2 separate regions of the Homo sapiens genome follow, and region 1 is linked to region 2. The links are contacts of gene promoters, found by promoter capture Hi-C in human tissues and cell types (Jung and others, 2019). All regions are on one chromosome and are shown on one strand. Each heading gives the region's core, a stretch centred on a gene start or on the middle of the fragment in contact. The rest is flanking DNA. Distances are from core to core; before and after follow the strand shown.

Evidence for each region. The method cuts DNA at HindIII sites, captures the fragments that hold promoters and counts their contacts. A contact is called where the count stands out against the background at its distance.
Region 1: a contact is called between a fragment that was not itself captured here and the fragment with the promoter of SMOC2 in region 2, in 2 of the 25 tissues and cell types used here (adrenal gland and heart right ventricle).

Annotation. Positions count from the first base shown.
Region 1 is chr6:168,519,203-168,525,295 of GRCh38, reverse strand. The region is part of intron 2 of SMOC2 (SPARC related modular calcium binding 2); the gene reads right to left. Among named protein-coding and RNA genes, the nearest start is that of SMOC2, 81 kb to the right of the region's middle. The HindIII fragment of the contact is 5,960 bases long and covers 1,191-6,093 here.
Region 2 is chr6:168,437,303-168,443,088 of GRCh38, reverse strand. SMOC2 (SPARC related modular calcium binding 2) reads right to left here and starts at 1,905. Exons shown (of 13, transcript NM_001166412.2): 1 at 1,635-1,905. The coding sequence starts at 1,718. The HindIII fragment of the contact is 15,076 bases long and covers 1-5,786 here.

The sequences.
Region 1 (6,093 bases), core at 2,921-5,420, 80 kb before region 2:
CAGGGGGAAAAGGCTTGTCCTAAGAACAGCCTCCCACCACAGGAGACGACGTCACGTTGGCTGCCATGGGCCGCCTCCCCGGAAGCAGAACACACATGCATGCTTTACTTCTTGGGACCATCACACCATATAGCTTATTTGAATTTTAAAACTTGAAAAAATGGCTTTCCTTTTTAAAAAACGTATTTCCAGATTTCAATCACAAGTGCCTGCATCTTGAGAGAGCACAAAGGCCGTCTCGACTCCAAGGACTCTTCTTCAAATGTTGTTCACTTCCGTCTTCAGATGGTGACTTTTTGACTCCCTCGTGGTTAAAGTGCTGGCTATGGCAAAATGCGATCCGATTACCAGCCCTGGGCTCCACCCGTCACAGCGGGCTCCTACAGGCTCCGCCTCTAACAATGCTCCAGGGCCTTTGTGCGACTCCTCTCTGGCTTTTGCAGAACCACCGGCCACATGCTGCATAGAGCATTACGGGCCTACACATCTGAGCAAACGCTCCTCCATGCATCCCAGCTTCATGCCTTCAGCTTTATTCTAAAGTCTGGCCTGGCCAGCCAGCACTCAGCAACATGTGGTTTTAATGCAGTCTGTGTTTTAGCTGAGGAGAAATCACTGCTTTGCTGGACTTCTGTCCTCGTTTTTTAGTATAACCTGTGGTTTTGACTGTCTAAAAAGGAAAAGTGATATGAGTTCCAGCTTGCGAGGTCTCCACGAGGTACAGATGGAGCTATAAATTAGGTCTAATATTTGAGCTATCATGGAACATGCCAAGAAAGCTAAGTTTTCCAAACTCCTGTGGGCTCCATTCTTGGCGTGGACTTCTTTTAAAGACTTCACATTTGCCACTGGTCAGATAGTTCTGAAATCTGCAGCTCTTGGGTTTAATAGAATATTAAATTCCAAGTTTACGTCTAGCCTATGGCAAACTATTTAGTCATAGGAAACAATTAAGACTTAGCATGAAATTACAAGGCCTGCATAAATCATCACTCAAAATAAACCTGCAGTCATCTTATGAAGTAAAACTGCTACAGGGTTGCGGCTTATTCCACAGATTTGCTATTCCTTATTCTGGATATCTCGTGTTAAATCAGGTTCAAGATCTTTACTACAGAGAAGTGCCTGACCAGCATCCGACAAGGTCCATTCTACCGAGAGGCACAAAATTGCCAGAGAATGAGCACTCAGAAACAGTCATGGCCCCCGTGTGTTCTCAATATCACTCTAAGCCATTATATGCTTGATACAGACATACCTTAGACTGAATTAAATGCCCCTCTTTATAAAAATCAAAATGTTAAACACACCCTCAAAATTATACTATTTCCAACTTTCCAACTTTTTAATCGCTTTGAAAGAATGGAATAGGATGCTTCAACACTGTCCCCTGGAAACCTTATTTACAGATGATGATAAATGTCTCTCCTTAATATATTTTTACTCTGTATGATTCTTTGGTTGAGTTAAAAATTAAGCAGAACCCTAACTGTTTAACAGCCTTGTTGAGATTCCACTCTGAACACTTTATGTTTAACTGTTTGATTATTAAATCCCCAGAACATAAGCAACATAATTTTTTAAATTACTGTATGACGGCCAGGTGCGGAGGTTGATGCCTGTAATCCCAGCACTTTGGGAGGCTGAGGTGGGCGCATCACGAGGTCAGGAGATGAAGACCATCCTGGCTAACATGGTGAAACCCCGTCTCTACTAAAAATAAAAATAATAAAAAAAAAAATTAGCCAGGCATGGTGGCAGGCGCCTGTGTTCCCAGCTACTCTGGAGGCTGAGGAAGGAGAATCACTTGAACCTGGGAGGCAGAGATTGCAGTGAGCTGAGATCGCACCACTGCACTCCAGCCTGGGTGACAGAGCAAGACTCTGCCACAAAAAAAAAAGAATTACTGGCCGGGCGCGGTGGCTCACGCCTGTAATCCCAGCACTTTGGGAGGCCGAGGCGGGTGGATCTTGAGGTCAGGAGATCGAGACCATCCTGGCTAACAAGGTGAAACCCCGTCTCTACTAAAAATACAAAAAATTAGCCGGGCGCGGTGGCGGGCGCCTGTAGTCCCAGCTACTCGGGAGGCTGAGGCAGGAGAATGGCGTGAACCCAGGAAGCGGAGCTTGCAGTGAGCCGAGATTGCGCCACTGCAGTCCGCAGTCCGGCCTGGGCGACAGAGCGAGACTCCGTCTCAAAAAAAAAAAAAAAAAAAATTACTGTACAACTACAAATAACATAAAATTTACCATCTTATCCATTTTAAAGTGAACGATTCAGTGGCATGTAGCACATTCATAGTGTTGGGCAACTGCCACCTCAGCCTAGTTCCAGAACATTCTCCTCATTCCCAAAAGAATGCCCGTTAAGCTGCCATTCCCCATTTCCCCCTCACCTCAACCCCTAGAACTATCCGTCTACCTCCTGTCTCTACAAATTTGCCTATTCTGGGCATTTCCTATCAATGCAATCACACACGAGGTATCCTTCTGTGCCTGGCTTCCTCCACTTAGCCTGATGTTTTCACGGTTCATGTATGTATGCTGATGTATGTCTACACCAGAGATGGTACATCAATGTAATCATACACGAGGTATACTTCTGTGTCTGACTTCCTTCACTTGGCATGATGATTTCAAGGTTCATGTACGTGTGTTCATGCATGTCTACACCATCAATGTAATCATACACGAGGTATCCTTCTGTGTCTGGCTTCCTTCATTTAGCGTGATGTTGTCAAGGTTTATGTATGTTACAGCATGTTTCAGAGCCATGTTCCTTTTTATGGCTGAATAATATTCTATTGAACAGATGGACCATATTTTGTTTATTCATTCACTCATGGATGAACACTTAGGATCTTTTGGCTATTGTAAATAATGCTGTTATAGACATGCAGATGTAAATTTTTGTTTGAACGCCTGTTTTCAAGTCTTTTGGGTAAAAAGTAGAAATGATGGAGTAGAAATGATGGTTCACATGGCAGTCCTGCATGTAACTTACGGAGGGAGTGCCTGCTGTCTGCCACAGTGCTAAACCGTTGTATGTCCAGCCAACAGACACAAGTGTTTATCCACCCAGAATTTATTTTGTCTTTGTTACACTGTTGTAACCATCTGACTGGGATGAAATGGTTTCATAGTACTTTGGCTCATAGTATTATATTACTATAATCAATGTCTACCTCAGAGAAAAACATCTTAGCTGGAAATTATAATATTAACACTTTAAATAAAAGTGTTAATCTCCTTCTAATTGAAGAATTTAGTCACTTTTTACTAGACCAAATAAAAACTTTCTTATGTGAATTTTGTCATCTATTTTTAGAAAATGTTTGCTCTTACCTGCAGAGCCGGGACTTTATAAAGAAAGAACTCATCATTGCTTAGCAAGGCATCACTAACAACAGGTTTTGTTTTGCTTTAGAGACAGGGTCTCTGTCGGCAAGGCTGGAGGGCAGTGGTGCCATCACGGCTCACTGCAGCTTCAACCTCCTGAGCTCAAGGAATCCTCTCACCTCAGCCTGCCCAGTAGCTGGGAAGACAGGCACCACGACTGGCAAATTTTTTAATTTTCGTAGAGATGGGGTATTGATTTGTTGCCCAGGCTTGTTTTGAACTCCTGGTGTCAAGCAATCCTCCCGCCTCCCAGAATGCTGGGATTACAGGCATGAGCCCCCACGCCTAGCCCTAACAGAAATATTTTGATGAATTTTTGGTTAATGATAGTTAATTGTGCAAGCAATTTATTTCTACCTGTTGGATGATATTTCATCTCTCTCAGTTACAAAACAAAATAGGCTCCAATCAGATTACAAGCTTGTTTACATATCAAGATATGTCATGGAGACCTGGCACAGTGGCTCACGCCTGTAATCCCAGCACTTTGGGAGGCCAAGGCGGGTGCATCACCTGAGGTCAGGAGTTCAAGACCAGCCTGGCCAACATGGTGAAACTCCACCTCTACTAAAAATACAAAAATTAGCCAGGTTTGGTGGTGGGCACCTGTAATCCCAGCTACTCAGGAGGCTGAGGCAGGAGAATCACATGAACCTGGGAGGTGGAGGTTGCAGTGAGCCGAGATCGTGCCACCATACTCCAGCCTGGGTGACAGAGCAAGGCTCTGTCTCAAAAGAAAAAAAAAGATATGTCATGGAAACCATTAAAATGTGATGCTCACTACAAAGTAGAAATGAAAACAGTGTTTTATAATGGTTACTTATGATGAGTGTTTTCTTTTAAACGGAAAGCAAATAATTCCCTACTTTGCTAGAATCTCTCAAAACAGGATTAGGCAAGAATCAGCAGAGATTGCTTTGCTGAACATTTTACAGAGATCTGGAGAGCAACAATTAAAAGGAACAGTTAAAAGGGATCTTTGAGAAAACTTTTCAAAACAGGGCCAAGAAACAGTGATCTTCACAGGTGATGATGAATTTGGTAGTCCTAAGCCCAGAGAGTTCCTCTCTCAGGGACTCCTGTCTGTAACAGAATCGAATAACATAAACACACTAAGCTAGGCAAAAGTGAATCAAAGTAACTCTTCCTGTTGGTCTTCCAAGATGCTTTGGTTTACACCAGAGATGGTGTCTCAAGACTTTGATGCCACTCAGCTTCCTACTGCAATAGGCAGAGAACTTTGGGACACAGGTAATGACTGTGGTGTCTCATTTATCGATATGGAAGGAGCAGCTAGCTGGATATGTTTCTGGTCAACAGATGCTCTGACTCTGGATCTCGCGAGGTCACTGAATGGCTATGATTATGGCCACGGCCATGTAAACTCTTCAAGTTCAGGCTCAGCTTGCACTGCCATCTCCCCATGAGCCAGTGCAGGGCTGGCCGGGACGGGGCTGGTGTGGGAATGCCACGGGCTGAACGAGCAAATGGCAGCCAGGCAGAGGACACATATGGTGTCTTTGTAGTGGCCACGGCAATGATAGCCCTCAGAGTGGCATGGCTTTTATTGATTTTGGCATCAAATGAAGGCAGACACTGTGTTTTAAAAGTTGTAGTATTTTACCCACCCGTAATTTTGAAGGCCAGAGTCAGAAAAACTAAGAATGCCATGCTGCAACACTCTCCAGCAGAACTGAAGTATTCTTTTCCATCCTAATATCCTAATATAGATGAAAGTGCTGTGATAAGCGCCCCCAACCCCAGTGGTCTGCAGCCCTTGGCCAGCAAAAGCAGCATGATGCATCCCCACAGCAGCAGACTAGCGCATCCGTCCAACCTTCCCTCAACCATGACCAGAACGACACCATTTCAGAGCTAAGGGAGACAGGAACGACATTTTCGTTTTACGTAAGTATTCTCTTTTTAAATGCATAAAGGCAGAAACAAAATTATAATAGGAAATCTCTAAATATGTAACTGAGATTGCCAAATTGTAAAGAGAAAGTTAAGAGAAACTGCAAACCATTGCAAGACTATATTACAGTATTCAGACAGCCTTTATAATATTTATACAAGAAACCACAGATCATGCCCATCTCTATGAAAATATCAGTGATTTGCAACAGATCGAAATGGATGATTGTGTAAATGGTCACTAAATCCTTTGCAGGAAGGCTGACTAGAACCTTCCAGAGGGCAGAAGCTCCCTAGGCTGTGCGGAGAGGCCCCTGCTCTGCTGATGAGCCGGTGCCTTGGGTTTGGTGGTGCCACTAAAGCAAACAAGGAAAGGCCCTTTGGATGTGCGATGTTCTAGGAACGTCCGGCTGTGTTTCTGATCACGGCTGCACACGAGACCGAAGGCCCTGAATCTCCTGTTATGTCTACCCCAGCCTGTGAGGAAGGGCGCTCCCAAACATCAGACGTGTTAAAATACCATAAGCGAGTTAAGGTAAACATACTCTGGGTAGAGTTTCTGCAAGACACAAGCACAAATCCGATTGAAGTTGCTTCTGATAACTGTGTCTGCTGGAAGAAGAAAATCCAACCTGGAAAGGGTGGAGCCAGGGATAAGCACCTGGCCCAGGAGCCCAGGGCACAGAAAGAATCACGGACACTAATGCTCACTCACACATGCACGCACGCACATGAACACACAAACATGCACGTATACACACTCTCTCACACACGCATGCAT
Region 2 (5,786 bases), core at 656-3,155:
CTTTGGAGAATTGGCCTTAGTTTCTCTGTCTCCTCTAGTGTGCTTTAAGAGTATGTGGGGGGTCTTTTTGTGAGTGTATACGTGAGTATATTTATGTCTAGATGCATGTACAGATGTGCATATACATGAATGCCTCCAGTGAGTATCCTCTGAGGGCCCCCTCTGGGGAGATAAAGGATCTTCAGGGAAAGCCTGAGTGTGTGAAAACCTCCTTGGAGCCCCAGTTAGCAGTTTCTAATCTACAAGTCATTTGTGAGACACAAGGCAGGGACCCCGGGCTGCTGCAGAAGAATTTGAGGTATGAGCAATGAACTCACAAACCATCCTTCACACTGCTAAAACGCAAAAGAAAGAAGACGAAGAAAAAGAAAAAGAAAAAGAAAAGATGCCCACATGACTGTTTTAAATTTGCTGAAAGGCAGAACCGACCACAGCTTATTTCAACCATCTTTATTTTCAATACAATAAACACCTTTAGGACAAGTCCCCGGCCACTTAAAAAAGACGGCTGTCCACCAGAGGCGTTCTCACTACCTTCGTGTTTTCTCAAACACTTGTTCAAAAACACATTTAAGTGGAATGTTTTCGTTTCTGGCGATTGCATTAATGATGGGTTTGCAAACCCTGCAAGCCCAGGAGGACGGCTGGAGCTGGGGGCTGCAGACACCCGGCCTTGGCCCAGCGGCCGCCGCGGGTTGGCTTGGCCGGCGGGGGCTTGGCTCAGCCCCCTCTACATAGCTCCTCGTTTGACACCGCGTGCGTTGGCCGGGCCAAGGCTGTCGCATAGAAGTTACAGCTCAGAAAGAAAAACACACAGCGGTCAACCGCGGTGACCCTCGCGCTCAGGAGCGCAGCATCCCTGCCACGAGGAAGAACCCAGAGGCCCCGCAGAGCGGGGAGCCGCCGCCTGCCTCCAGTTCTGTCCTGAGAAGGGAAGAAAGCGCTTCTCTAATAACACTCAGGCCCGTGAAGAATCATCTGTAACCTCATCTGCTTCTTCCTCGGCTCACTTACGAGGGTCTCTGGGAGAGTCAGACCCACGAGTGGGGCCCACGACTGGCAGCCCCTTCAGCCGGCGAGAGGCCCGGGATCCGCGCGGCGCACGAGCCCAAAGCGGTCGGGAGAACACGCTCCAGGCCGGGTCCCCGTGGGCGAGGTGGGCGCCCAGTCCCGGCGGGTCTGTCTTGGCCTTGGGACAGTCCGCGGGGCGGCGCCGGCGCTCCCAGACCTGGTTCCCCACAGGCTCAGGCCCAGCAGTGAGTGCGGGACACCCGAGCGCACCCGCAGCTCCCACTTGTCCGGGGTCTGCAGGACCCCAGGATCCTCTCACAGCCGGGTCAGAGCCCCCGAGGCAGGTGGGGTCCCAGCCGGGTGGAACCCGAGGAGCCCGTCGCAGCCGCAGCAGGACCCCGGCGGGCAGGGTCCCCAGAAGCCCATCCCAGCCGGGTCCCAGGCGCGCACGCTGCGTCCTACCTGCTCCAGCCTCGCCGGCAGGCGAAGGCTCCACGGCCCCCGGGGCCACCTGCTCCCCGTGCCCAGGCGCCTGGGCCTGGAGCGGGGCGCGGGGACCCGAACCCGGCCGGCTGCAAGAGGCGGCACCACTTGAGCTCCAGGTCCCGCGGGCCCGGGCTTACCGTGAGCGCCGAGAACTTCTGAGCGGGCACCGGCGGGAGCAGCCCAGCGAGCAGCGGCAGCCAGCAGAGCTGGGGGAGCAGCATGGTGGCGGAGGTGGCGGGAGCGGGAGATCGGCCGCGTCCTGCGCCCTGGCACTGCAGCCGGGAGAGCCCAGTGGGCGAGCGCGGCTGGGCGGGCGCGTGGAGGGGCGGCTCCGCGATGCTCTCCCCACCGCTCCCGGCGGCCCGGCTGGAGCAGCTCCCCTGCAGGCACCCAGAGGTCCTCCGCGTTCTTTGCGTCCGCCCTCGCTCCTGTCAAATACCCCGGAGCTTCCCGGATCCTCCCCTCCCGCCCGCCTCTCTCCCTCCCCCTCTCCTCCCCCAGCCCCACCTCCCAGCGCCCGCTGCCGCGCCCGCTCCGCTCCGGTGCCCGCTGCGGCCCAGAGGCCTCCCTGGCGCGGGTCTGCGGAGCGAGAGGTGGAGCGGGGGCCACCAGGGCTGCGCAGTGGCCTGTCCGGGCTGTCTCTGTGCCTCCTTCCCCGCGCGCACTCTCACACACACACGTGCACACTTACACACACGCACACCCAGGCACACGCACGCACTCATACCCACGCGCGCGCACCCTCGGGGGGCTTCCAAGCACAACCACGGGACGCACCGCGCCCTCCTCACGCCCCAGGGTCCAGGCCCGGTCCGCGCAGGATCAGCCCAGCGGGACTTTTCATCCACAAAGGTTAACGCCAAGCCTTGGCCGGTCCCCAGACTCCGGGGTTCTCCTTGACCTCTGCCCTCTAAGGCCCCCTGGTCCAGCCCAGAACATTGCCTCTCAGAGGTGCTGAAGGATCAGCGGCGCTCCAGCAAAGGCAGCTGGGAACACATGTCCAGGAAAGGCTGCGCCGGGGGCAGCCCGCCTTTGGCATCTTTACACGGGGTTATCCACTGCAGGGATGGGGGAATTTAGGTCCTAAAGATCCGGGGTCTGACCTGGGCTGTAGCCTTGATCCTCTCAAGTCGGGGGAGCATGTGGTTGGGCATCATTCACAGACACATGTGGCTGTTTTTAAACAGCTCTGTCAAAGCATTTCAGGTGTTTGTGCGGGGAGCACAGGGCTTGTGGAGGTTGTAAACTCACCCACGAAGACTACGTTGGAAACCAGGAAATTTTTGCACACCCAGACTCTGGATAATATCCACTGCAGACAACATTGCTGACATAGTTTAGCCTTGGCTTATAACTTTACAGGAAAAAGCCCTAATTCTGTCTCACACAGAAAGCCAGAAGAGTGAAGATTTGTTCAAGAACAATGAATCAATTGACTTGTCAGGGGCATTGGGAAAAGCACAAAACACAGAAAATCCAAATCTGAGGTTTCATCCGATGTCTAGCCCACTGCTTTGGCTATGAACTTTGGGGGAGGGGGCTGTATCAGCAAGTTCTGGGACTGGCTGCTGAGGCAAAGGCAATGCTATTGCAACCTTTCCCACACAATTTTATCAGGAAAGTGATGTCCGTCGGGCCACGGAAAGACGGGAAAGAAATGCACCTTTTCCTGAAGGAGGGCTACTCTCAGAATTCTCCTTAAAATTCCAAAGCCCAGGGAATCTATTAAGCACTTAAACACATTCCTCCTGGTTTAAGGACTTAGAAGGAAATTATAATAAAACTCTTGAGGGACTGCTCCTGGGTCCAGAAAAACAGGTGAGCAGAGCAGCTGCAAATGATTAAGTAAATAGGAATCACTGTTAGGGAACTGCAGTGAAAATTAAAGTAAAAAGAAAATAAACACTACATACCACTAATTCTAAGATTATCCAAAGAATAAAATTTACACTCGAAGCTGACATACTTCCTTTAAGAAGTATTTGCTACTAAAGAACCTGTTTTTCACTTTCCACTTTGTTGAGAGTACTGCTCGTCAGAACTCAAAAGTTTGAAAGCATGTTCATTTATCCACCATCGTCCGCTGCAAGAATGGCAGACAAGAAGCAGACTTAATTATTCCCATTCTACAGATGAGGAACAAAAGTCAAAGGGGCCAAATGTCTTAGCCAGATCTCCTAAGCAACAAAATCATAAACAGAATGCAGATGTTAAAACCTGCAATACTGGCAAATCCATGTCACTTCCTCTGGCAATATGGAGAACAGAAGAAAATCCTTGGCCCTCCGTGCCTTGTATTCAAGAATCCCAACACGTCTTTCATGTAGCAACTCCAGAATCCTCTGGGAACTCTAGGAAGATAAATGAAATGCATTTGTCCAAAACTCTGACAGATGAGGCAGGTTTGGAGCCTTTGAAACCCCTTTCAAATCTGGAGGAGCTCATGTGTCCTGAATGCCAAATTTTAGTTTCTCAAAATTCTAGAAATGGAGTTTGGAGAGATAATCAGGTTCCATTTTTATGGAGAAAAACAATACATTTATTTAAAACACTGGGAAAGAGTTATGTCTGTCTTTTATTTGTAAGTCTCCAAGAAAGTTATTACTGGCAGGAATGCCAGAGAGCTGTCATGTTAGAAAGGATAGAAAAGTAATTCACTCAGTTCAAAGTTAAGACAGGAAGTGATCAGCTCTATACTTTCCAGAGAGTTCCTCTAGGATGCAGGAAGAAGTTCCCCTCTCTTGGAAATGTAGGTTTTTTTGTTTTTTTTTTTAATTAAAAAGTGATGCAGGGCCCATTCTAAAATGTGGCTTATGCATTCAGAATTTAAATGCCTGTCACTGATGAAAGTTACAATAAAGAACAGCAAGAGAAACTAATTACCAAAGACTCCAGCTGTTTTCACATTTCTAAACTAACTTTCCCTCTTAGGCCATTAGCAAAATGCTTTATCATGAGTATTGGCTTCCTTTTTATTTATTTTACTATGCTAAAACTGCAAAAGGATTTTATTTTCATTATAGAAATGATATAATTTAGTTATTATTTCTGGCTAATTCATGTTTAGCCAGAAAACTTTTTGTCAGCTATTTTCCCATCTCAATATGCCAAGCATAAGTTTAGTCAAATATCTCTTTGTTGATGCAGTGACTTCCAGAAATCCCCTCTGCCATCACTCTGAGTATCATCTGGGACTGAACTCAGGTCACTGTTCATACTCTGAGAATCACCCCACATCATCAGTCACCTGCCAGTCACTTATTAATGTTTTCTCCTAGTTTCTACTTAATCATGGGAGCAGGAGTTTTCACCGTTCACCTGGACTTTCTTAGGTAAGTTCTGTGTGATTTTCCTTTTAGACTACCCCCAGGCTGGACCCGAGAATCTGTAGTTCCCCAGGTTTCTGGAGTCTCTGTCCTCTTGTTGGCTTGTTCATTCTGATGACTTGCATCTTCCTTTTAACTTGTTCCCTTCAACCTACGGAAAAATGATGCAGGATCCCCACATCAATCCCAGGTTTTTAGCCCAAGTTCTGCAGCTTCACAAACCTGTGAGCCATATAGAAAGGAAACCACATCGGCAGAGTTGACAAAATCAGAACAGAGCACCGCCGAGGCTCACCGTCACCGCGGCTGCAGGATGAGGCCAGCGTTGACACACCACGTTGAAAAGTGGACAGTGGAGTTGTGTGTTTGATCCTTGGGCCTGACTCAATGGCTTTCTTCCTATTTTGATATATTTAAGTAACAGAGAATTTGGACTTTGTGCTCAACAAAATAATTAAACAAGTTTCTTCTTTTTTTTTTTTTTTTTTGAGATGGAGTCTTGCTCTGTTGCCCAGGCTGGAGTGCAGTGGTGCAATCTCGGCTCACTGCAAGCTCTCCCTCCCGGGTTCACACCATTCTCCTGCCTCAGCCTCCCGAGTAGCTGGGACTACAGGCGCCCACCACCACGCCCAGCTAATTTTTTGTATTTTTAGTAGAGACGGGGTTTCACTGTGTTAGCCAGGATGGTCTCCATCTCCTGACCTCGTGATCCGCCCACCTCGGCCTCCCAAAGTGCTGAGATTACAGGCGTGAGCCACCGCGCCCGGCCTCTTCTTCCTTCTTAAGATGCCTGAGGACAATTTTTATGATAATACTTTTCAGGCACTTTGTGGCAAATTTTTAAAAAATAATTTCAGCTTTTATTTTAGACTCGGGGGCACACGTGCAGGTTTGTGACATGGACATATTGTGTGACTCTGAGGTTTGGGGTATGAAAGACGCAGAGAGTGAGCATAGCACCCA